Linked DNA regions of Homo sapiens: regions 1, 2 and 3 are each linked to region 4. Evidence: promoter capture Hi-C in 16 types of primary human blood cells and fetal thymus (Javierre and others, 2016). All regions are on one chromosome and are shown on one strand. The core of a region is centred on a gene start or on the middle of the fragment in contact, and the rest is flanking DNA. Distances in the headings are between cores, read along the strand shown.

The links. The method cuts DNA at HindIII sites, captures the fragments that hold promoters and counts their contacts. A CHiCAGO score of 5 or more calls a contact.
Region 1: a contact is called between a fragment that was not itself captured here and the fragment with the promoter of SYTL2 in region 4, in 1 of 17 cell types (neutrophils). The highest score is 5.5, in neutrophils.
Region 2: a contact is called between a fragment that was not itself captured here and the fragment with the promoter of SYTL2 in region 4, in 1 of 17 cell types (neutrophils). The highest score is 5.2, in neutrophils.
Region 3: a fragment that was not itself captured here is called in contact with the fragment with the promoter of SYTL2 in region 4 in 1 of 17 cell types (monocytes); the score reaches 6.3 in monocytes.

Annotation. Positions count from the first base shown.
Region 1 is chr11:86,382,801-86,388,745 of GRCh38, reverse strand. It overlaps CCDC81 (coiled-coil domain containing 81), which reads right to left. Exons shown (of 15, transcript NM_001156474.2): 2 at 2,634-2,695; 3 at 1,074-1,230. LOC105369421 (a long non-coding RNA gene) reads left to right here. Exons shown (of 5, transcript XR_007062826.1): 2 at 873-979. Among named protein-coding and RNA genes, the nearest start is that of CCDC81, 11 kb to the right of the region's middle. The HindIII fragment of the contact is 3,566 bases long and covers 1,406-4,971 here.
Region 2 is chr11:86,347,302-86,352,466 of GRCh38, reverse strand. All of the region lies in intron 4 of LOC105369421 (a long non-coding RNA gene), which reads left to right. Among named protein-coding and RNA genes, the nearest start is that of CCDC81, 25 kb to the left of the region's middle. The HindIII fragment of the contact is 9,507 bases long and covers 1-5,165 here.
Region 3 is chr11:86,330,965-86,336,953 of GRCh38, reverse strand. The region is part of intron 2 of HIKESHI (heat shock protein nuclear import factor hikeshi); the gene reads right to left. It overlaps LOC105369421 (a long non-coding RNA gene), which reads left to right. Exons shown (of 5, transcript XR_007062826.1): 5 at 21-990. Among named protein-coding and RNA genes, the nearest start is that of HIKESHI, 32 kb to the right of the region's middle. The HindIII fragment of the contact is 1,063 bases long and covers 1,976-3,038 here.
Region 4 is chr11:85,807,287-85,812,943 of GRCh38, reverse strand. It overlaps SYTL2 (synaptotagmin like 2), which reads left to right and starts at 1,803. Exons shown (of 20, transcript NM_206927.4): 1 at 1,803-1,990. RefSeq lists a silencer at 1,665-1,844. The HindIII fragment of the contact is 7,624 bases long and covers 1-5,657 here.

The sequences.
Region 1 (5,945 bases), core at 1,939-4,438, 570 kb before region 4:
TTTTGTTCCCATGAAAGGGAGAAACAAAGAAAAGAAAAAAAAATTCTAGGTAAAAATAGCTGAAAAGTTCATCAAGCCCACCATACTGAATATATACCTAAGAAATTCTAAGTATGGTTTGTTGACATTTGTTTTTCTAATATATCATTCTTTTGAAAGTAGAAAGTTACTCAAGTGACTCTGAAAATTAACTTTCAGGAACATTATCTTAGAGGACAGTTTCAGCCTTTTCACCTGTTGCCATCGGAGATAGATTGTCTCCATTTATCCAGGAGTGAGTCTGATGCTGGGGGCGGGGACAATCAGGAAGGTCGAAAGGAACACAGCCAGGAATCAGGAAGTATGCACCCAAAGGCTGCTAAGTAACCAAGGGAGGTGTTACGAAGCCCACACACTAAAGCTGGATGGAAGCAGTCTGTGGCAGGGATTATGCCTATTTTGTTTACCACTATATCTCAAGCACCTGGAACAAGGTCTGACACATAGTTGGCTCTCAATAAATATTTGAAGAAGGAAGGAAGGAAGGAAGGAAGGAGGGAAGGAGGGAAGGAGGAAAGGAGGGAGGGAGGGAGGTTGGCTTTAGGGTATGCGAAAGGTATATAAGGTATGCATTAAGTCTTTATAGAATTATTCAACTTCTAACTTTTAAATTTTAATGATTTGGATTATACATATGATAGAAAGACAGTTATCTTTTTGACAGCTGATACTGACTGTAGTTCTCCCAACCAGAGATCCTAATTAACTTTCTCTTCTTTGTAACCACTTTTAATTTCTTAGGATCTGAAATAAAGGGCTTACAGCTCTGTGGTGTGGCTTTTACATAAATTTTCCTTTACGTTACATCAGGTTTTTTCACTCCTTCCTCTTAGGTTACTGGGGTTTAAAATGGCCTTCAGGAAGACTCTATTATTTTTCCACTTTGGCCCCTCCCTCTGCCAAAAGCACCTTGTGAAAAGTGAGTTCCTCAAATAAGAAGGTAAGACAGCAGCACTGGCTACGCTTTGCCCTTTCATTTTTTATCCCCAGGACAGTAACCTTCTGGGAAAATCCTACATATCAGAATTATTTACCAGGAGTATATACTTTGTTTTGTTTGAGTCCATGAATCTGCACTAGCTTCTCCACCATGATAAACACAGGCCTCTGGATTAAGATAAATTTGTTGTTTCCCACCTCAAGCTTTTGTCTTATGAAAGTGAAAGTTCCAAATGCTGGAATCTGAACCCCCTGAAAGGAAAAAACAAAACAAAACAGAATTCATTGAAGGAGTGAAGAAAAAATAATCCTTAATATTATTATCTAAAAAACACGAAGAGAAGTAAGCTTAGGCCTTAAAAATTCAGTGATCTCTAGGACTCTTCAGAGCTATAGCATTTTATAATTCTAAGTTTTCAAATAAGCTTAGTATAAAATGTAATACATTGGTCCATGATGATTTGCAGACATCAGATCGCTCATCTCTGTATCATCAAAAGGCTAAGAAATTGGTGTGAATGCCATAGCATCTTTTAATCTTTAACCCAGATTACTCCTGTCCTAAATTGTGTGACATTTTAAATTTTAATCATCTGCCATTAGAGGAATTTAAGAGGGCATGAGAATCTCTGCTTTCTCATTCCTACTTTTAGATTTTATGTCTGCCACAGCAGACAACCAGCATCCAAATCATATGCTGCAATGTAGTGATCCTGGCTGATGAGTAGAAGCAAATGTTTTTGCCTCTCATACTGGGTTTCTGTCTCCCTGGAGATATCATTCATCAAGAACTACAAACTCAAATGCCTACAGGAGCCAAAAAAGAAAGCAAGAGAGTGAAAGTAGCCAGCCAGGGAATGTGATGGCTATGGACTGCACACCCCGTCTAAAGGGGAGAGCACATCTTGAGCTCCAAATGTGTCACCACGTAGCAATGGAAGACTAGTACTGTTAGATCTGCTGATTTTTCAATGAAAGGGAGGGAAAAAATCCAAAACATTATATGATTTTTCCCAAGTTTAAGTGCTGATAACAAATTCAAATTCTCAAACAAAACAAAATAAATTTGAAGTATGAATTCTGCCCAAGAGCTCTCATAGTAGGACCTCTGAATGGGGTATAAAAGTTCCACAACTTCCCAGCTTCCCCCAAGCTCATCCCCAAATCTCTGTCCAGTTCTATGGCATCTAAACCCAAGACTTAACAGGAGGGAACAGTCCAGCCCTAGGCAAAGTTTCTCATTTTGGCAAGTCTTCTATTTCAGTTAAAATCCATTCCCTGCAAGGAGGCAAGACAAGAAGCGTTATATCCTTCTATAGCTATGCCAGGAACTATCAGATCACAGACAAACAGAACTCATCTAGTTTCCTTACACACACCCAGGCTGATCAGCACTACACTCTGTAACACTAGAAGAGCAGAACTTACAAATTCATTACCTAAAAATAAAATTCATGTTTGTTAAATCTATTACCCACAAGTCCGAACATGAGCATCAAAAAACATAGGACTGAAAGTTAAACAGGATGGCTCTAAAGTCTACTGCCCTGCTCCCAGCAACATTATATAAGACTATGAAGGAAGGATCCTTTAGATGCCTACATTAAAATTAATAAATTAATTTATTAATAAATTAATAAATTAATAAATCTTACCTTGTGCAGGGTTAACTGCCGTCTCACAAATTCTGATACATTCCCCCAGATAATAGAGACTTCTGAAATTCAAAAGTAACCAGAAATTATTCAATTTATATGCGCACCCATGTGACAGTATCTTAGTGCTAATAAATAAAAATGTAAATATGAAATGTGGAAGCAAATGACATTAATTCCTGATTAATTTAGAATTAACAAAAAACAAGGCCATTCCCAAAAGTTAATTTTCTTGGTAACTAAGGCTTACTCCCTTAAGTTCAGAAGATGTGATTTAAAATAATAATAATAATACATTTTTAAAGAAAATATTTCTACAGCAAAGGGAACTCTGTCACACCCTTTTCTTTATTCTGTAAAGAGAGTTAATCAAGTATAACCCAACCTTTTCTTAATGACCCAGCAACCGTTTATCGGGTGTCTATTCTGTGCCATCTGATTAATAAGAACGTTCATTCTCACACCATTCCACAACACAGGAATAAGGCAAAAGGCCACTAAGGCGTGAAAGGCTGTTGTGTGTACATTAACTTTTCCTACACTTCTATTTTTGCTAAATCCTCAAATCTGCATTTTATTCTCATTTTTCACTGCTAAGCTACCAGCTGTCACTTGCTCTACTAGTACTCTGTGGGCTCCTGGACCAGTCATAATTCATTGCTTCTTATCTACTGTGTTCTGGAAATAACAAATACTAATAGTATGTCTAAAATAACTTTTTTTTTTTTGAGACAGGGTATCACTCTGTCACCCAGGCTGGAGTGCAGTGGCGTGATCTCGGCTCACTGCAACCTCCGCCTCCCGGGTTCAAACGAGTCTCCTGCCTCAGCCTCCCGAGTAGCTGAGATTACAGGCGCCAGCCACCATGCCTGGCTAATTGTACTTTTAGTAGAGACAGGGTTTCGCCATGTTGGCCAGGCTGGTCTCCAACTCCTGACCTCAGGTGATCCACCCGCCTCGGCCTCCCAAAGTGCTGGGATTACAGGCATGAGCCACCATGCCCAGCCTCAAATAATAATTTTTTAAAAACACACATTTGAGTAGGACAAGGAGCTTTACTTTGAATTAATGCATACACTTGGCACTATCAATTTTGACTGACTGGAGGAAAGCCTTCCAAGTTTATCTTCTTGTTCTGAGCTGTGTTCCAAACAAGTGTGGTAGAAAAATAGGTAGTTGCCAATAATGAAAGTGTTAATGTATGATATGAACCTATACTGTAGTATGACTAATATTTCAAAGTCTAGAAAATTATATCTGTGTTAACATCGCCCTTCCAGACCTAACCATGTGTTTATCAAAGATACTTTCCAGTTAAGAACTCTCTGCAAATCAAGACTGTTACGTTTTAATTCTCAAAATAAAAAATCAAGAACAGTGACATTAACAAACTTGCCATTTAGGGACATAGATGCAGCTGGTGACAAAAGCCCAATCCTTTTTCCACTTTGGAAACTGCTTGTTTTATTGGTTTATTGGTTTATCTTTTTTCTAACAATTTAAACCACTAGCTAAAACACGGAGAGTGCAATCTTTTAATTCTGGTATATCAGAGTTATAAATATTTTTATTAATAGGCCAGGAAAGGGGCAGGTTTGGTGGATGAGAAGTAGCAATGACTTTTATGACTATCTGGGAACAAGTTTGGTGATGGAAACTCACTCACCCATTAATAAAATTAGGGCTGCAAGCTACAGTGAGCACGAGGGCCAAGATTCTGCCCCTCATTAATCACTTTCTATAATCAGGCATTTCCCTTACTCTGCCCACCCTACCTTGTTCCCCACTCCTCCCCACCCCCACAGCCCATAGATTCTACTACAGGCTGCTAAGAACTAAGAACCAGTCCTAACTGTATACTGAATTAAAACTTTCATCATGACCAAAAATTTCATTAATTCACAAATGCAAAATCTCAGTATCCAGATGTACATGGAGAACTTTCAAAGTTATTAAGTCAAAATTGTTAAATTTATGACTCTAACAGTCTTTCACCTCTAAAAGCTCGTATTTTAGGAAAACAACTACACTGAAGATGAAATGATTTCATTAGAGCCAGGAGAAAGTGTATAGTTTGCAACCAAACCCCAGTGAAAAGACTCAGCTGAGTTTAATTGAAAATTTGAGGATTCTGTCTTTCTTCATTTGGATGATATATTCAAGCCCACTGTACTGTTTTATTCCATAAAGCCTAACAGATAACATTACATAAGAGCAGAACTAATTATTCTAAACTAAAATTTGCTATTTCTCATTGAAGAGAAAGAAAACTATGCATATCATTTGCCTTAGGAGGCTTTAGGCCCCTGCAATCCAATCGGAATAGATTTGGAAAGCTTACAGACTGTAATTTCTAAATTTGACGTTTTCTGACATCCCAAAGAGTCAGAGAGGATATCATTAAATCTCAAAATGAAAAATATCAAGTCTAAAAAGCAAATTGAAGGATATACTACTTTCATATTTTAAGGGAAGCCAGGGTTCTTACTTATTTCAATCAAACACTGAAATGCCAAGAATCACTCTTATAAAGAACTAATCCCTAGACATATACTCTATATTCAGTTCAACCTTCATTTGGCTTCAAATTCTTAACATTCCATGCGCTCAAAACCATATGTTTAAACACCGTGCCAAGTAACAGGATACTGTATCTTACATATGATCATTATTTAAAAATCCTACATGCCTGTTCTGTAAATTATACAATACTATATGCTTGAAAAAGTCATTAATGTCAAAAAACAGATATGTTTCCTGATGTTATAAAACTTATCTTCTAAAATTAAAATACTGATATATGGAATAGTATAGCAGAATAGTAAAGGATGATTTGAACAAAGAAACATATTCCCAGAGCATAATGCAATGGAAAGAGCAGTGTGCTACGTGGAAGACCCACAGCCTTCCTGCTTCCATGGACTCAACTTTTACCCAGTTCACATCTGTAAAATGATGACAGGGCCTTCTAAGAACTATAATTACATAATATTAAACTTTGCTAAAACATACAGAAGCAGCAGGAATATACAATGATGAATATATACACTGATGAAAGTTAATTTATGTGTTTTGCTCAGTTTGAAGTTTATCTTCATCCTTGTTGCAATAGATAATTTGTGAAAGGTAATAAATAGTAGTTTGACTTTCACTTCAGCTCTTGCTGAAGTCACCAATGGTCTCTTTGTCAATACATTCAATAAACGTATTTAATTCTGAGCCCTCAGCCATGTCTGACACTATTGATCACTCCCTCCCCGTTTAAGCACCTCTCCTTTTGGCTTTTATACTACTACTCTCATTTGGGTTTTC
Region 2 (5,165 bases), core at 31-2,530, 540 kb before region 4:
ATTCTAAATTTGTTAATTCTTAAGCTACAACCATAAGGACTTCCTGTGTCAGCTTCATTTGTGATTTCCAGATCCTTAGTTAACTTTAAGGATATGAATATTCTTTTGTAAGTAACCTTGGAAAACTGGACAATTTTATGACATATGTGCTTTAATAACTGGTGTAGCTGTTAGCTACCAGGTTAAAAAGGATGTATAGATGGCTTTATGTTGATGTGAATACTTGTTTTGAAGATATTTTTTAAATGTGGATAGGTAATGGGATGTGTATGCAAGGTAATGAATTTTATTTATCTAAGTAAAAAAGAATTATTTTACCTTAAGGAGAGTCTGGTTATGCTAGCCTAGAAGAGTATTTTTTTATTATTATACTTTAAGTTTTAGGGTACATGTGCACAACGTGCAGGTTTGTTACATATGTATACCTGTGCCATGTTGGTGTGCTGCACCTAGTAACTCATCATTTAGCATTAGGTATATATCCTAATGCTATCCCTCCCCACTCCCCCAACCCCACAACAGGCCCCAGTGTGTGATGTTCCCCTTCCTGTGTCCATGTGTTCTCATTTTTCAATTCCCACCTATGAGTGAGAATATGCGGTGTTTGGTTTTTTGTCCTTGTGATAGTTTGCTGAGAATGCTGGTTTCCAGCTTCATCCACGTCCCTACAAAGGACATGAACTCATCATTTTTTATGGCTGCATAGTATTCCATGGTGTATATGTGCCACATTTTCTTAATCCAGTCTATCATTGTTGGACATATGGGTTGGTTCCAAGTCTTTGCTATTGTGAATAGTGCTGCAATAAACATACGTGTGCATGTGTCTTTATAGCAGCATGATTTATAATCCTTACAATGAACTCAAACAAATTTACAAGAAAAAAACAAACAACCCCATCAAAAAGTGGGTGAAGGATATGAACAGACACTTCTCAAAAGAAGACATTTACGCAGCCAAAAAACACATGAAAAAATGCTCATCATCACTGGCCATCAGAGAAATGCAAATCAAAACCACAATGAGATACCATCTCACACCAGTTAGAATGGAGATCATTTAAAAGTCAGGAAACAACAGGTGCTGGAGAGGATGTGGAGAAATAGGAACACTTTTACACTGTTGGTGGGACTGTAAACTAGTTCAACCATTGTGGAAGTCAGTGTGGCGATTCCTCAGGGATCTAGAACTAGAAATACCATTTGAAGAGTATTTTTTAAACTTAAGAGTATTCAGGCCGGGCGCGGTGGCTCACATCTGTAACCCTAGCACTTTGGGAGGCCGAGGTGGGTGGATCGCTTGAGGTCAGGAGTTCGAGACCAGCCTGGCCAACATGGTGAAACCCCATCTCTACCAAAAATACAAAAATTAGCCAGGCATGGTGGCAGACACCTGTAATCCTAGCTACTCAGGAGGCTGAGGCCGGAGAATCACTTGAACTCAGGAGGGCTGAGATCACACCACTGCACTCCAGCCTGGGAGACAGAGTGAGATTTCATCTCAGAAAAAAAGTATTCAGAGAGTGTAGAAGTTCTGAGGAGTAAACTGTATTTGACAAGTTAGGGGTTGGAAAGGATCAATAAATGTGTCAAAATTTTTGACGAAGCTGGTTAAATGTGATGGATGTATTCACAGGAAGAAAGGCTTATGAAGCCATTACTACATATTGTTAAATAGAAGACAAGTAACAAGAGTAAAACTATAATCTGGATTTTCTTTCTGATAAAACAGCAAAGCTATCTCTGGTGAGATAACAAAGATTTCTTCTATCACTGTAACATTCTATCACTAAGCATTTTGACATATTAAGTCATTTTTTAAAAAAGCTAAAATACTAATTTGGAAAAACTAAAATACCTAATAATCCTAGTCACATATTCTTTTATCTTTTATGTTTGTGCACCAAAATTAACTTGATATGGTTCAAATGTAGACTAACGGTTCAACAAATGATGTTGGGAAAACTGGATATTCACACGCAAAAGAATGTGCATATTCATTTACCATTCACAAAAATTAACTCAAGATGAATCAAAGACCTAAATGAAAGAGATAAAACTATAAAACTCTTAGAAGAAAACACAGGAGTCAGTCTTCACAACCTTGAATTAGGCAATCGTTTCTTAGATATAACACCAAGAACAGAAACAAGAAAAGAAAAACAAAGATAAACTGAATTACATCAAAATTAAAAACTTTTGTACTGCAAATGATATCAACAAGAAAGTGAAAAGATAACTCACAGAAGAAAATATTTGCAAATCCTATTTTTAAGAGACTTGTATCTATAATAAACTCCTAGCCAGGCACAGTGGCTCATGCCTATAATCCCAGCACTTCAGGGGGCTGAGGTGTGTGGATCCCTTGAGCACAGGAGTTCAAGACCAGCCTGGACAACAGAGTGAGACTAGATCTCTACAAAAAATACCAAAAAAAAAAAAATTAGCTGGGCATGGTGGTGCGCACTTCTAGTCCCAGCTACTCGGGAAGCTGAAGTGAGAGTATCACTTGAGGCTGGGAGGTCGAGGCTGTAGTGAACCGTGATCGCACCACTGCACTCCAGTCTAGGCAACAGAGGGAGATCCTGTCTCAAAAAATTGAAAAGAAAAAAGATAAAAAGAAATGAAGTACAGATACATGCTACAACATGGAATAATCTTGAAAACATTATGCTAAGTGAAGGAAGCTAGTCACAAAAGACCACTCTCTCTGATTCCATTTATATAAAATATCCAGAAAAGGCAAATCCAGACACAAAAAGATTAGTGGTGGCTTAGGGATACTAGAAGCTGGGAGATGGGGATTAACTACTAATGGATATGAGGCTCCTTTTGGAGGAATAAAAATTAGATTGTGATGACATTTGCACAAATCTGAGACTAAACTAAAAAGCATTCATTCATTCAATTGAGACAAGGTCTCTGCTGTTGCCCAGGCTGGTCTTGAATTCCTGGGCTCAAACAATTCTCTCACTTCAGGCTCCAGAGTAGCTGAGATTACAGCTGTGCACCACTGCACCTGGCTCTTTAAATGGGTTAACTGTAAATGGGTTAACTGTGTGGAATATGAATTATATCTCAATAAATCTTTTAAAAATTAAATTCTTTAATTTAAAAAAAATTTTTTTTTTTGAGACTGAGTCTCATTCTGTTACCCAGACTGGAGTGCAGTAGCACCATCTCGGCTCACTGCAGCCTCCACCTCCTGGGTTCAAGTGATTCTCCTGCCTCAGCTTCTGGAGTAGCTGGGATTACAAGCATGCACAACCATGCCCGGCTAATGTTTGTGTTTTTAGTAAAGATGGGCTTTCACCATATTGGCCAGGCTGGTCTTGAACTCCTAGCCTCAAGTGATCCACCCACCTCGGCCTCCCAACGTCCTGGGATTACAGGCGTGAGCCACCATGCCCAGCCACCTTTATATATTTTTGACTAATATTCATATCTTCTCTCCTCTGACAACTCTTTATAATTTTGGCCTTTCCCAAATTCAGGCACAGTAAGACTATGAAGATGTCTTTTATGCCTGAACTCTTCAGGTTTCCTTCACATTATGGAAGAAAAGACAATAGGAAAAATTAGGTTTGTTTGGCACTCTACAAATTTTAATTAATCCCCAATCATTTTAAGACTTTTTTTTTAAAAAAAATCAAACTTAAAAGAAAAAAAGAAAACTTAACAAATCAAGAGATTAGCCTTCTCCTGTTAATTATGCCAGGTAAAATTTGTGAATAAAAATGTTTCAGTGTTTCATTTCAGGTAAAAAGAAACATGCTCATGTTCATGTAAAGACTAACACAATAACTGTCTGCAAAAAGATATACTTTACGAGATTACAGACCAAGAGAATTATCACTGAATATTGTCCATAATATGTTGTACTCTCATAATCATTTTATAAATTGTATTGTTCCTCAATAGTGGATTCCACTCTTCTCTAATCTAGAAAAACATCATTGTCTGCAACATCCTCAACTATCAGCAAACTTAGTCTTCTGGAAGAGACATCAGGGAAAAACTGGCCTCAGTGAAAAATTAGCTCAGCAGATACTGTAACAACTAGCATGGCAGTAAACTCCAAGATGATGATCACTGGGTTTATGTTTCCCAACTAAATGACAAGTACCTTCTCCAGACAGCTAAACAACCACTCCATCAGGAGACCTTAAACCAATGATTCTTAGGAATCCTCCAGAAGCCAACATCTTTGGTGGAAGACTACTAATCAAGACCTTCAAATCAAACAAATGACAATACAAAGTAGACAGCATGGCAACAAGGAAGGCTACAAGGCAACAAGGAAGATTAATTTTCTGATACCTTTGCTACTTTCCCTCTTCTGCTTATTACAGTTTGGTACTCCCTAGAGATTGCCTAAAGGTTTCTCAGTATTCTCTCACATTTATCATTTTATACTTAATTCTTTATGGTGTTTTTTGGCCACCTTAAGAATTTTGAGCAGTTTTCTCAAACTATAGCTACTCCCTGAATCTTTCAAATTCCACCATAAAATATATATATATATATATTTCCTTTAAATTCTTGAGGAGGCCAGTTAATTCCCACAGGTCCCTTTTGGTATTTGAATTTTCTTCATATCATTAACCTCACTCTTCATTCTTGTAAAAACTGGATCTCTACCTTAATTAAACAAATATACTTCTGCTACAATCATTACAGCACTGTCAGCAGACAGAATCAAGCTCACCAAGGCAGGGGACAAATGTTGGAGCTATCCTCACTGCACTAGTCAGTTTTCTCCAGATTTTTCAGACTTCTCTGTAGGAACTATTTAACTCCTCTAAGAATATGCCCACCTCAAGGAAACAATTCTTGGCTCACTCCTGTTGTGATAAATATTTATATTTCTACTATCTTCTGTAACCCAGCCGGCATTATTTATGTCAACACCAGGTTTTTACCTGCCTCCTGTACACAAACCTACCTTGCATATATAGAATAATTGTTAGATGTTCAGATATTTAAAGCCCTTTTCTTTCCAGCATATCACGTGTCTCCGAGAATAACCAGAAACTTCCAAAATAAGGCAGGTATAGGCTACTCAGGAAAGCTCCCAGAAGTGATGACTCCTTATGCATACTGTGCAAGATACTATTCTAGAAGTAAGAATAATACTAGAAAATGTGGCCCAAAATTTCACTCCC
Region 3 (5,989 bases), core at 1,258-3,757, 520 kb before region 4:
TTTTTTTTTTTTCCTTTCAGAACTCTGAATATGCCAATCCACTACCGTCTAGAAGACTATGGGGTCTCTGATGAGAAATCAGCTATTAATCTTAGCAAGGATCCTTGCATGTGATGAGTTACTTCTCTTGATGCTTTCAACATTCTCTCTTTACCTTTTGACAGTTTGATTATCGTGTGTCTTGGTGTAGTTTATCCTACTTGGAGTTTCTTGAGCTTCTTAAATGTGGTTAATGTTTTTCCTCAAATTTGAGAAGTTTCTGAGCATTATTTATTTAAATATTGTTTTAGTCTGTTCAGGCTGCTATAACAAAACACCATAAACTGGGTAGCTTATAAACATCGGAAATTTATTTCTCACAGTTCTGGAGGTTGGGAAGTCCAAGATCAAGGAACCGGCAGATTTGGTATCTGGTGAAGGACCATTTTCTGGTTCAGACAGTGCCTTCTCACTGTGTTCTCACGTGGTAGTAGGGCAAGTGATCTTCTTATTACTCTAAGAGTGGTAATCCCATTCATGAGGGCTCTACTCCCATGACCCAGTCACCATCCAAGTCCCTACCTCCCAATACCTTGGGGGTTAGGATTTCAGCATATAAATTTAAAAGACCTCATCATATAAAAAGACACAAACATTCAGACCAGAGCAAATATTCTTTCCAGCCCTCCCGCCTTTCCATATGTTACTCTCATTACACTGTGTCTGCTGTGCATGTTGGTGCACTTGAGGGTGTCTCACAGGTCTCTAAGGGTCTGCTCTTCAAACTGGATATTCCAATTAATTTATCTTCGACTTCACTGATTCTTTCTTCTGTCTACTCAATTCTGCTATCTAAGCCCTTTAGTGAACCATTCAGTTACTGTACTTTTCAGCTATAAACTCTGTTTAGTTCCTTTCTATAATTTCTATATTGATATTCTCTATTTGATGATGTATCATTCTTCTGGTTTCCTTTAGCAATTTGAGCATAATAAAGACAGCTTACTTAAAGTCTTTGCCTGTGCTTCCCTGGGGGAAGTTTCTGTTCGTTTCCTCTGTATAAGAGCCTTACTTTGTTTCTTTGTATGTTTCATAATTTTTTGTAGAAAACTGGACATTTTGAATATTACAATGTGACGACGCTATAAATCAGATGTTTCCACCTTCTAGGGGTTTGTTGTTGCTGTTTATTGTAGTTGTTTCCTCATTTAATGACTTATCTGAACTAATTTTGTAAAGTCTGTTTCTTTGTTATGTGTGGCCAGTGAAGTCTCTGTTCCATTAGTTAGTAGTCTGCTAGTGATTAGAAAGAAATTTCCTTAAACCTCTGCAACCAAAAAATTCTGCCAGTCTTTGCAGATGGGCTCTGCGTGTTGGGACATGCCTTTAGTATTCAGCCAGGCAGTTTATAACTCCACCTTAGTCTTCACTTCCTGCTTGTGCGGAGACTTAAAGTGAGCCAGAAGAGAGAGCTCTGGGTCTTCGCGGGTCTTTCCTGAGCATGCACAAAGCTCTGGGAATGCACGTACCCTTCTAGATTACCAAGAATATGTCAGAGAATTTCAAAGCCCTCATTCCCCAAAGCATCTCATTCCCAACCTTTCTGGTTAGTTTTGGTTTACTCCAACTGTTTTCCTTTGCCTCGGGCAACAGTAGCTAAAACATATGTCTGTAAATACTTTTAACAAACACCCCCAAGGTAGATACTTTTCCATGAAGAGTTCCAAGTTAGGTGACATAAAGGCAGACCTCTTTTTTTTTAAACAGTCTTCTAGCAAGCCACCAGACAGATGAAAACAAGTTAATTACAATTCTTTCTGAATTAGGTCTATCCTGCTCCCTATATCAGTACCAGGAATGGAGTCTGTTATTTTCAAGGCTATCACTGAGCTGAGAAGCAGATGGGACAAGGGTAGCCAAATGCCACAAAGCTCACTGTTCTTACTGAGATTCAGTGTATTTTCTTGATTAAATGTTCCCCTGATTGCTACAAGCTTTTGGTTAGTTACCAGAGTTCCAAAAAAGTTGATTCTGGGTCAGACACAGTTGCTCATATCCTGTAATCCCAACACTTTCAGAGGCTGAGGCAGGAGGACTGCTTGAGCCCAGAAGTTTGAGACCAGCCTGGGCAACATGGGGAGACCCCATCTCTACAAAAGTTAGCCAGGCGAGGTGGTGCATGCTTGTGGTCCTAGCTACTTGGGAGGTGGAGGTGGGAGGATCGCTTAGGCCTAGGAGATCGAGACTACAGTGAGCTGTGATCTTCTGACAGTGTTGTTGTTGCTTTTATGGAAGACTGGATTTTCTGGAGCTCCTTACTCTACCGTTTGATTTCTTTTAAATCTAGAATTATGCTAAAATCCAGAAAACATATCATTATCAAAGCATATCATCAAATAGATGCAAAAATAATAAATTATAAATCATAATACAAAGAAGAGCAAGCAAAATATATGACCTAGTCTTAATATAAAAAACAAATGTAAATTAGATCAAGTTCTTTAAAACACTGTTAACAGTAAATGCAGCAGCTAATTTTTTTTAAGACTCTTTCTCAAAGCATCCCTCCTCCATGTAAATCAAGAGCCTAACACAAAACACAACTCAGAGGAAAAATTCCTACAGGGAGCTAGTTCTTTATTCTCAGTATACAAGGAAAAGCAGTCACCATCATTTGTTATTTGCATCTAATGGAAACTTTACACACACACACACACACACACACACACACACACACATATTTTACAAAGAATGTTGAGAAGAATCAGGAAATAGTGGAAAACAACTTTATTAGATTTTTTCTAAGTATTTAAGTACAGCAAATCCAGATAGTCATTCCACATTTTCCTTGTTTTTAAGATATAGCTGAAATGGGCTATGTCCTGTGAATACAACTGCCCATCAACCATCATGGATAAACATGGAACACATGCGTCTTATGGAACACATCCATTTTATAAATTTCATAAGTCAGATATCTATTAATAAAGTTATAGCTTATGGTTGTATCTTGTTCTTTTTTTGGCATCTACATTGCCATAATATAATACCTGAAAGCTTGAAGTTTTGAAACCTTTAACGGCTCATAATTTGTTGAAGGATGGCTATCCTCTGATCTACATTTTGCAAAATATTTTCATTTTTAGATTTATAACCATTATTTAGAATGATCAAGCCAATTATTTTTTTTTTCATTCCTATACCTATTTCCTTCCAATCACTTCTCTATACACCCCTGCTTTCAGCATTTGTCTATTTATAAAACCATATCCAGTCTATTTTGGAACACAAATATAAGAGATAAAAGAATAGCAGAACACATCCTTTACTACTTGTCCATGACAAAATATTATGTGAGAAATTCCTTCTTCTTAAATGACTGAGTAGAATACCATATTTCTTTTCTTTTTTTTTTTTGTTTGTTTGTTGTTGTTGTTGTTGAGACAGAGTCTCACTCTGTTGCCCAGGCTGGAGTGCGGTAGGACGATCTTGGCTCACTGCAACCTCCGCCTCCTGGGTTCAAGCAATTCTCATGCCTCAGCCTCCCGAGTAGCTGGGATTACAGGCCTGTGCAACCACACCGGCTAATTTTCAAATTTTTAGTGCAGACGGGGTTTCACCATGTTGGCCAGGCCAATCTGGAACTCTTGACCTCAAGTGATCCACCCATCTCGGCCTCCCAAAGTGCTGGGATTACAGACATGAGCCACCGCACCCGGCCTCATATTTTCTCTTGATCCTTAAAAATACATTGTTCAATCATCAAATTTTTAGTTGAGAAAACTCAGATAATGAGATCTTATTTGAAGATTCATAGTAGGTAATTTTGCTTATATGATCCACTTTACCATCGTCATCAGTGTAGAATTTACCTTTCAGTATTCATTTTCTGATTTGTCTAATAATTGTGAAACTTCTTCCTCTGTCAATTTTCTTCTCTTTGCCATTATGAACAAAATATTTAAAAGTATGAATTTACATTCTGTTCAATAAAAGCTAAAAAGAGACCATAAAGATGGTGTCTCCAGTCTCCTTTTATATTACTTAAAAGGTGGCATAATCTTTTGGGCAATGCAACATGAAAATTGTAGGTTAATGCAATGACAAACCAAGGCCCACAGGCCAAATCGGTCCCACAACCTATTTTGTATGACGTGGGAGCTAAGAATGGTTTTCAAATATTTAAAGGGTTGTTTAAGAATAATATGCCACAGAGATCAAATGTAGCCCACAATGCCTACAATATTTTCTAACTGATCCTTCACAAAAAAGTTTGCCAACTTCTACTCTAGCTAATTCCAACATTTTTCTTTTTTTATTTTAGCCCCCTTTTTGTAAGTATAGTTTTGATGAGTACTGATAAAATAATTTCCTGGATGAAATAACAAAATGCTTCAATATATAGGTAAAGTAAGACCAGTAATATCCCCAAATGCTTCTTAGATTTACAAAGTGGTCCATATGGTAATTGCAAGATAAAATGAGTTTTATTCTATTAAAAAACATGTAAGTAAATGTTATCTCTATTCTTTATTTTTTTTTCCTCTCTGTTCTTTAAGACCTCTACAAAAGAATAAAACTCATGAAGTACCAATCCTTCTAATGGGTAAAAATGCTCAAAAGGGAAATTTAAAAATTAAAAGTCCACTGGTTGAGATGTCTGTAAGTGTGCATAGCAGCAAAGAGATGAGGACTAAAGAAAACAGTTACGGGCCGGGCACGGTGGCTCACGCCTGTAATCCCAGCACTTTGCGAGGCCGAGGCGGGCAGATCACAAGGTCAGGAGCTCGAGACCATCCTGGCTAACACTGTGAAACCCCGTCTCTACTAAAAAAAATAAAAATAAGTTAGCTGGGCATGGTGGCAGGCGCCTGTAGTCCCAGCTACTCGGGAGGCTGAGGCAGGAGAATGGCATGAACACAGGAGGCGGAGTGCCACTGCACTCCAGCCTGAGCGACAGAGCAAGACTCCGTCGCAAAAAAAAAAAAAAAAGAAAAGAAAACAGTTATGGCAAAAGGAAGGAATTCACTATGCAGTAGCATTTCACTATGATGACATAGCTAAAAAACTACACAGAAACAACTTAAATATGCCTGCTTGAAAGCATTCCTAGTATTGAATATACAAATTTAGAAATATGTATTTCTAAAAACTCCCTGCTTCATTTCTATTGATACCTAGACAAACCTGAAATTACATTTTCACTAATGTATATTCTAAGAGCTATGTGACTCTCAAAGGCTTATCAGTAATTTTACACTAGATAAAAATATAATTTATCTGATACCATAGTATGTCTGAAAGGTACTTAATGAAGCAAAGTATCTAAAGTCCATCACTGTCCTCTATAGAGCACAAAATAAAAGATATAAAACATCCCTATTCTCAAAGAGCTTACACCCTAATGTGGCGGGGGAGGGAGGGCAGTAACAGTCACTTAACCATTCTGAACTGGTTTCATTATCTGGGTAATTTCTTTTCTTTTTGAGACAGAGTCTAGCTTTGTTGTCCAGGCTGGAGTGCTGTGGTGTGACCTTAGCTCACTGCAACCCCTACCTCCCAGGTTCAAGTGATACTCCTGCCTCATATTCCTGAGTAGCTGAAATTACAGGTGTGTGCCACCATGTGCAGCTAATTTTTGTATTTTTAGTAGACATGGGGTTTCACAATGTTGGCCAGGCTGGTCTCGAACTCCTGTTCTCAAAGATGCGCCCGCCTCGGCCTCCCAAAGTGCTGGGATTACAAGCGTGAGCCACTGCACCTGGCCCTATCTGGGTAATTTCTAACATCCTTTCTAGTGCTGACATTCTATGATTTTACGAAAATATAACAACCATTTATTAAGTACCAACTGTGTACAAGGTACTACCATGCATTTGTGTACATTATCCCTAAAAAGAAAAACAAAAAAAAACTTGCACTGCAGGTATTATCTCCATTTTACCTGAATTCTCCTCTGTAATTAAAGGTCTTGGTTAAGATTATACAACCAGTAATGAGTATCACTGAG
Region 4 (5,657 bases), core at 554-3,053:
GGAAGGGGATAACCAAGGCAGGTGCAATCAACAATAAAAGTGAAGTACCAAAAGCATCTGAGGTCACGCTACTCCCCTGCCTAAAATCATTCGCCAACAGCCATCACCAACAGGACACAGCCTGCTTCCCTCAGCAAGGCAGGTACAGCCACTCCTCCAACATCTGCCCACCTACCTCCTTAGCTTCATCTCTGCCTCATTGTCCCAAATCCTGTGCAATAGCCGTGACATATGACAGGCATCTCCATGTCTCTGCCTGCCTCTCTGTGCCCAGTCTTCTGTCACCCCTTCAATCTGACCTAATTTGTAGCCCTCCTTCAAGACCTACCTTGGTCACATTTGTATTTTTTATTGTCCCCCTCCTTCAGCGTAGTGACTCTACAACACTTTGTCAACCTATTATAACACTTACCCTAAAATGAAATTATTTACAAATTTGTTTCTTCAAAGGCAAGACCAGTGGCTTATTCCTCTTTTGCATGTGGCATGCTCACCCAGCACAGGGACACACCAGGCTCTCAAAGGCTGAAGGAAGCCAGAATACACATCTCTGCACAGTGCCAGGACTCTTGGGCCAGGCTAGCAGCCTGCACTGGGCACTAACTGAAGCCCTTGGGGATAAGTATTTGTAAGTTTGGGAGAAGGAAGACCTTTGGAAGAACCAAAGGCAGACCTGGGCCACCCTCAGTTAAATGGACAACACTAGTCCAGGAAATGATAAGGAAAAAGGCTTTAAGGTTCATCTCCTTCAGAGGTTTGCCTGGGCTGGCCCCATCATGGGTAACTTGTAAAAAATAGGTCGTGATACAATTTTTAAATTATTTTATTTATTTTTTTGAGACAGAGTCTTGCTCTGTCACCCAGGATGGGGTGCAGTGGTGCGATCTTGGCTCACGGCAGCCTCCACCTCTCGGGTTAAAGCGATTCTCCTGCCTCAGCTTCCTAAGTAGTTGGGACTACGGGCGCTCGCCACCACACCCAGCTAATTTTTCTTTTTTCTTTTCTAATTAGAACAGAGTTTTGCTATGTTGGCCGGGCTGGTCCCGAACTCCTGACCTCGGGTTATCCACCTGCCTCGGCCTCCCATAATGCTGGGATTACAGGTGTGAGCCACCGCGCCCGACCACAATATTGTATTTACTGTATTGCATTGTCTGCCTCCCTGCCACACAGCGTCTTCCAGGAGCTTACCAGTCCTCTGTGCATACCCCAGTAAGTAGCTCAGGCAGTGCATGACGCCCTCACCTTTCTCTAGGTATTATTGTATTTTAAAGCATCACTTCATTTAGTCCTCTCAACAACTTTTTTCCCCCCTTCTTCTATTTCACATGTGAGGAAATTGACGTCCCGAGGGTTAAAGCAAGTTACCCCATGACCGGGCTCCATACCCTCCGCGCCCCTTTCCCTGCGCGGTGGCTGTCCCTTCTCGGAGTGCAGAGGCTCCTAGTGCTCCACACTCTCGGGCTCCAAGGCCCCCTAACGCGCCGTGATAAAAATAATAATAACAATAACAACAGTGCTGCTTTATTTGCACAGAAAACAGGTTGTTTCGGGGCAAGGTACACTTGAGAAGGAGGCTAGGAACCGGAGAGAAGCAGCAGGCGGGGGCGGAGGGCGAAGGGAGGGAAGGGGAGAGGGCAGGGGCTGGCAGGCGCTGTGTGCCGGGCGAGGAGGCCGGGGCGGGCCGGGGCGGGGAGCGGGCGAAGCGCCATTGGCCCGAGCACCCGGGACCGGCCCCACCGCACCGCCCGCCGGGGGCGGGGGTAGCGGGGAGGGACTCGCGCACGCCGCTCTGCGTTGACAGTGCCGGGCGACACCCGGGCCGTGCCGCCAGCGTCCGTCGGGAGAGTGAAGGCTCGCAACGCCTTGCCCGGGGGAAGGTAACGCGCCGCGCCCGGGGCTGCGCGGTTTGCACCGCCAGGCCGAGGGCTGGGGGCCAGAAGACAAGAGAGACGGCGAGGCGCGCTCCCTGCCCGGCAGCGACTCGGAGGTGCGCACTCGGGTTCCAGTCTCTACTTGGCCCACTCGCTGTGTTACCTCGGGCAACTTTGTTTCCCTCTCTTGGTCTCTGCTTCCTCCTCTGTTAAGTGAGGGAGGTGGTGTAGAATGTTGTTCCTTAGTCTAACCAGTTCTAAAATGGGAACTGCGTTTTGGCACGGGGAAAGCTCCTTTCCTCAGTTTCCCACCTACTCCAGAGCCACCTCCGCTGCCCAGGCGGCCAGGAAGCTGGGATGCCCGGGTAGGCGAGGGTTCTGCTGAGCTATCGCGTTTTCTAGGGCTTTCAGGGACTGACCTGGGCTTGGGGCTGGGTGCTGGGGAGACCTGGCTGCAGAGTAACTGCCCCCAGATTGCTCAGGTGCAGAAAGGTAGGAGCGTCAGCACCTGTTTACAGGTGGGGTGTTGGGAAGGGCCGGCCAGGGGATGATGATTTCTCCTTTGAAAATAAGACGTGTTTTGGAATTCTCTTCCATACCCACACCTCGTCCCACGGCGAGCTATAAACTACACGAGTGGGCTTTATCATCCTTTGAAGTGGAAAAGCGACTGTTTTTAGCGTCTAAGACACAGGGCTCCACCAGCATATAGGAAGTGGGTCTCTCTTTCTCTGCACCCATCCTGCCGCGTCTTCCCTTTCTTTCCTCCTCTCTTTATAAATCCCCTTTGACCTTGAGGGGCTCCACTTCCTGCCTTAATGAAAAGTTCTTCTTTTCATTTAGTGCTGGTTTGTGACCAGCAGCCTCCAGGGCTTTGGGCGCAGGGTTGAGATAGAAGCCTAGATAAGAACAGGCTATGAATCACCCTGTCAGCCCCCTGAGCCACACAGCCCGGCAGGGATGTGCAGAGGAAGCCCGGTGGGGCTTCAGACAGATAGACCCTGGAAGGTGGGGTGGATGCAAACTGCCATCCAGCTTCCCGTCCCCTTGTTGGCAGCCATTCCCCACCAGGATGGTGACCCCTGCTGTCTGCTGGATGGAGCAGCCAGATAGAGTAGGATGATTGAAAGGAGCTGAGGACTTGGCTGGATTTCTATGGAAGGTCTCCAGCATTTCCCTTCCCTCACTTTCCTCCACCCCTGAAGTTCTGCCCCTTCTCACCCTTAGTGTGGTATCCAGGTGAAATCAGATTGCAGAACCCATCAAGAGCAGCTAGGAAGGAGAAGAGGTGTGGGGACGGCAGCAGGGCAATGTTGACTGCTGTTTAGTGGGCACTTACTATGGGCCAGACACTTCTTTGTATGTAATATATCCTTAATTCTCACAAAGCCACATGAGGGGTGATGTACTATACCCTATTTTATAGGTGAGAAACAGGCTCAGAAAGATTGCTTCCTTTAGTCACTTAGCTAGGAAGTAGCATAGCTGGAATTCAAATCCAATCTCTGATTCTAAAACCTGTGTTCTTTACACTGTCTTTGTGCTCCTTAAGTAAGAGCAAGCTGGAATAAGGAGAGCAAAAATGTCTAACATTGTGTTCTCACCAGGTGTCAGGCACTATGCAAAACATCTTAGAGCTATTATGTCATTTATGGTGCAGGAGTTTCCGTTATTCTGGAGGTAATCTGTGACTGCCTTAGCCTCTCAGCAGCAGTACTGTTCTAGAAGGCCTACCCTAATCCTGCCCAGCTGCTAGTGCGTGGGTGGGGCAGGGCCCTGTTTGCTTTATCCTAGAGGTGGTTTGGGGTCTAATGAAAGATTGATTGTCCACATCTGACCCGTTAGCCCTAACCGTTGGCTGGTGAATGATTCCACTGTCCCCTAAGAGGCCTTTTTCAGGTTTTGCTCAATAAACATTTGTGGAATGAATGAATTAGCACCTTGTGCAGAGTGGTCTGCTGCCTTGTAGAAATGTGAGGCAGCCTAGGGGAAGCCCAGGTTCCACCATCTTCAAAACCCAGATGCTAGTCTAGGTGTTTCTCCTCTTTGGGCAAGGGAGGTAGGGTGAACTGTGCCTGTATAGGCTTCCAGAGCTCCCTGGAAATATGTTTGCTTGTCACCTGTTTTACAAAGAATTTTTAAACATACAGTAGATGAAGAAAAATGTGGCTTTTTTTTTTTTTAAATTAAGAGGAAAACTTACTTGGTATTAATGAGGTTGTCACTCTCTCAAAAGTTGGGGGGATAAGATTATAATGTTTGTCTTAGGGCTTACCAAACTTTTCCATAGAAGATCCTGCAATGGAAAAGAAGACCAACACATGCTCCTGTGCTTATGCAATTTTTTTCATTTGATTTCATAATATATGGACTTTGATTTAAAAATATAAAGTTTTTTCTTCAAAATATCTGAATAAAACTGGTGTCCTGGCAGATTGTTATATATTCTTAGGGGCTTCGAGTACCCAGATGGAGAAGTAGGACCAAGGTTCTAGAGGGCTTAGACTACTGTTTGAATTTTCCACTCTCTGGTTCACAGTAATAGAGCTTCTCTAGTCCCTGGGGAGACATCCACTTTTTTCCCATTTTTCAGAATGAAGAATGTTTTAAAAATAAAAATATCCTTTATTTTCTTATTACCAAAACTAAACATATTCATTGTAGAAAAAAATATAAGATCCAGATTAACATTAATAATAATATCAGGCCGGGTGCAGTGGCTAATGCCTGGAATCCCAGCACTTTGGGAGGCCGAGGCAGGTGGATCACAAGGTCAGGAGTTCGAGACCAGCCTGGCCAATATAGTGAAACCCCATCTCTACTAAAAATACAAAACTTAGCTGCGCGTGGTGGCATGCGCCTGTAGTCCCAGCTGCTCAGGAGGCTAAGGCAGGAGAATCTCTTGAACCCGGGAGGCGGAGGTTGCAGTGAGCTGAGATCATGCCACTGTACTCCAGCCTGGGTGACAGAGCAAGACTCCATCTCAAATAATAATAATAATAATAATGATATAAATACATCTATACTCAAATAATTAAAGCAAAACTTGGGATATAGCGTTCCAAATCTTTTTCTTTGCATCTATATTAACAAATTTTAAAAACACACACACAAATACAGCCCTTTTGACTGAATTATTGTCAGAGCTAAGAGCCATCTCAGATTGTTTTTGACAGAATGTAGAGAAAAAATCATGAATAATTAAAAGCATCATGAAGGTTAATCTTGTTTGTGAGCCCCGAAGTTCACCCCTCATAATTTCCCTGTATTTATCTTGTGGGAGAGATGAGTGCTGGGCCATGGGGCTGCTGTTGAAAATGCAGGGTCAAGCTGTACTCTTGCTAAACATCTCAAATATAACAGAAAAGGTAGCTCTTTAGTGTTGCTGATGTGCAAAATTTGAGCAGAAAATTAAAAAACTAATTTGCACAGTAATTTGCAGAAAATTCAGGAGGGTCCTGGAGAAAGTCATTGCCCCAGCATTGCATTTTATTACCTGTGTGACCTTGGGCAAGACAGATGGCTTCTCTGAGCTGGTTTCCACTTTTATAAATTGATGATAATAAACAAATTCTATCCTCACTTACCAGAATCACTATAAGGATCAAGTGTCAGGTGTTATTGTTTGTTACTTGGATTGCATGCATGTGTGTATGCTATTAATATTTTAAAAATGTTTAAACATAGAGGCAATAAAACATTATCAGTCTTTATAAAATCCTGGAATCCAACTCTTGGTATTAGTAGGACTTAATCATGATGTAAATGCTCTATTGGGACTCA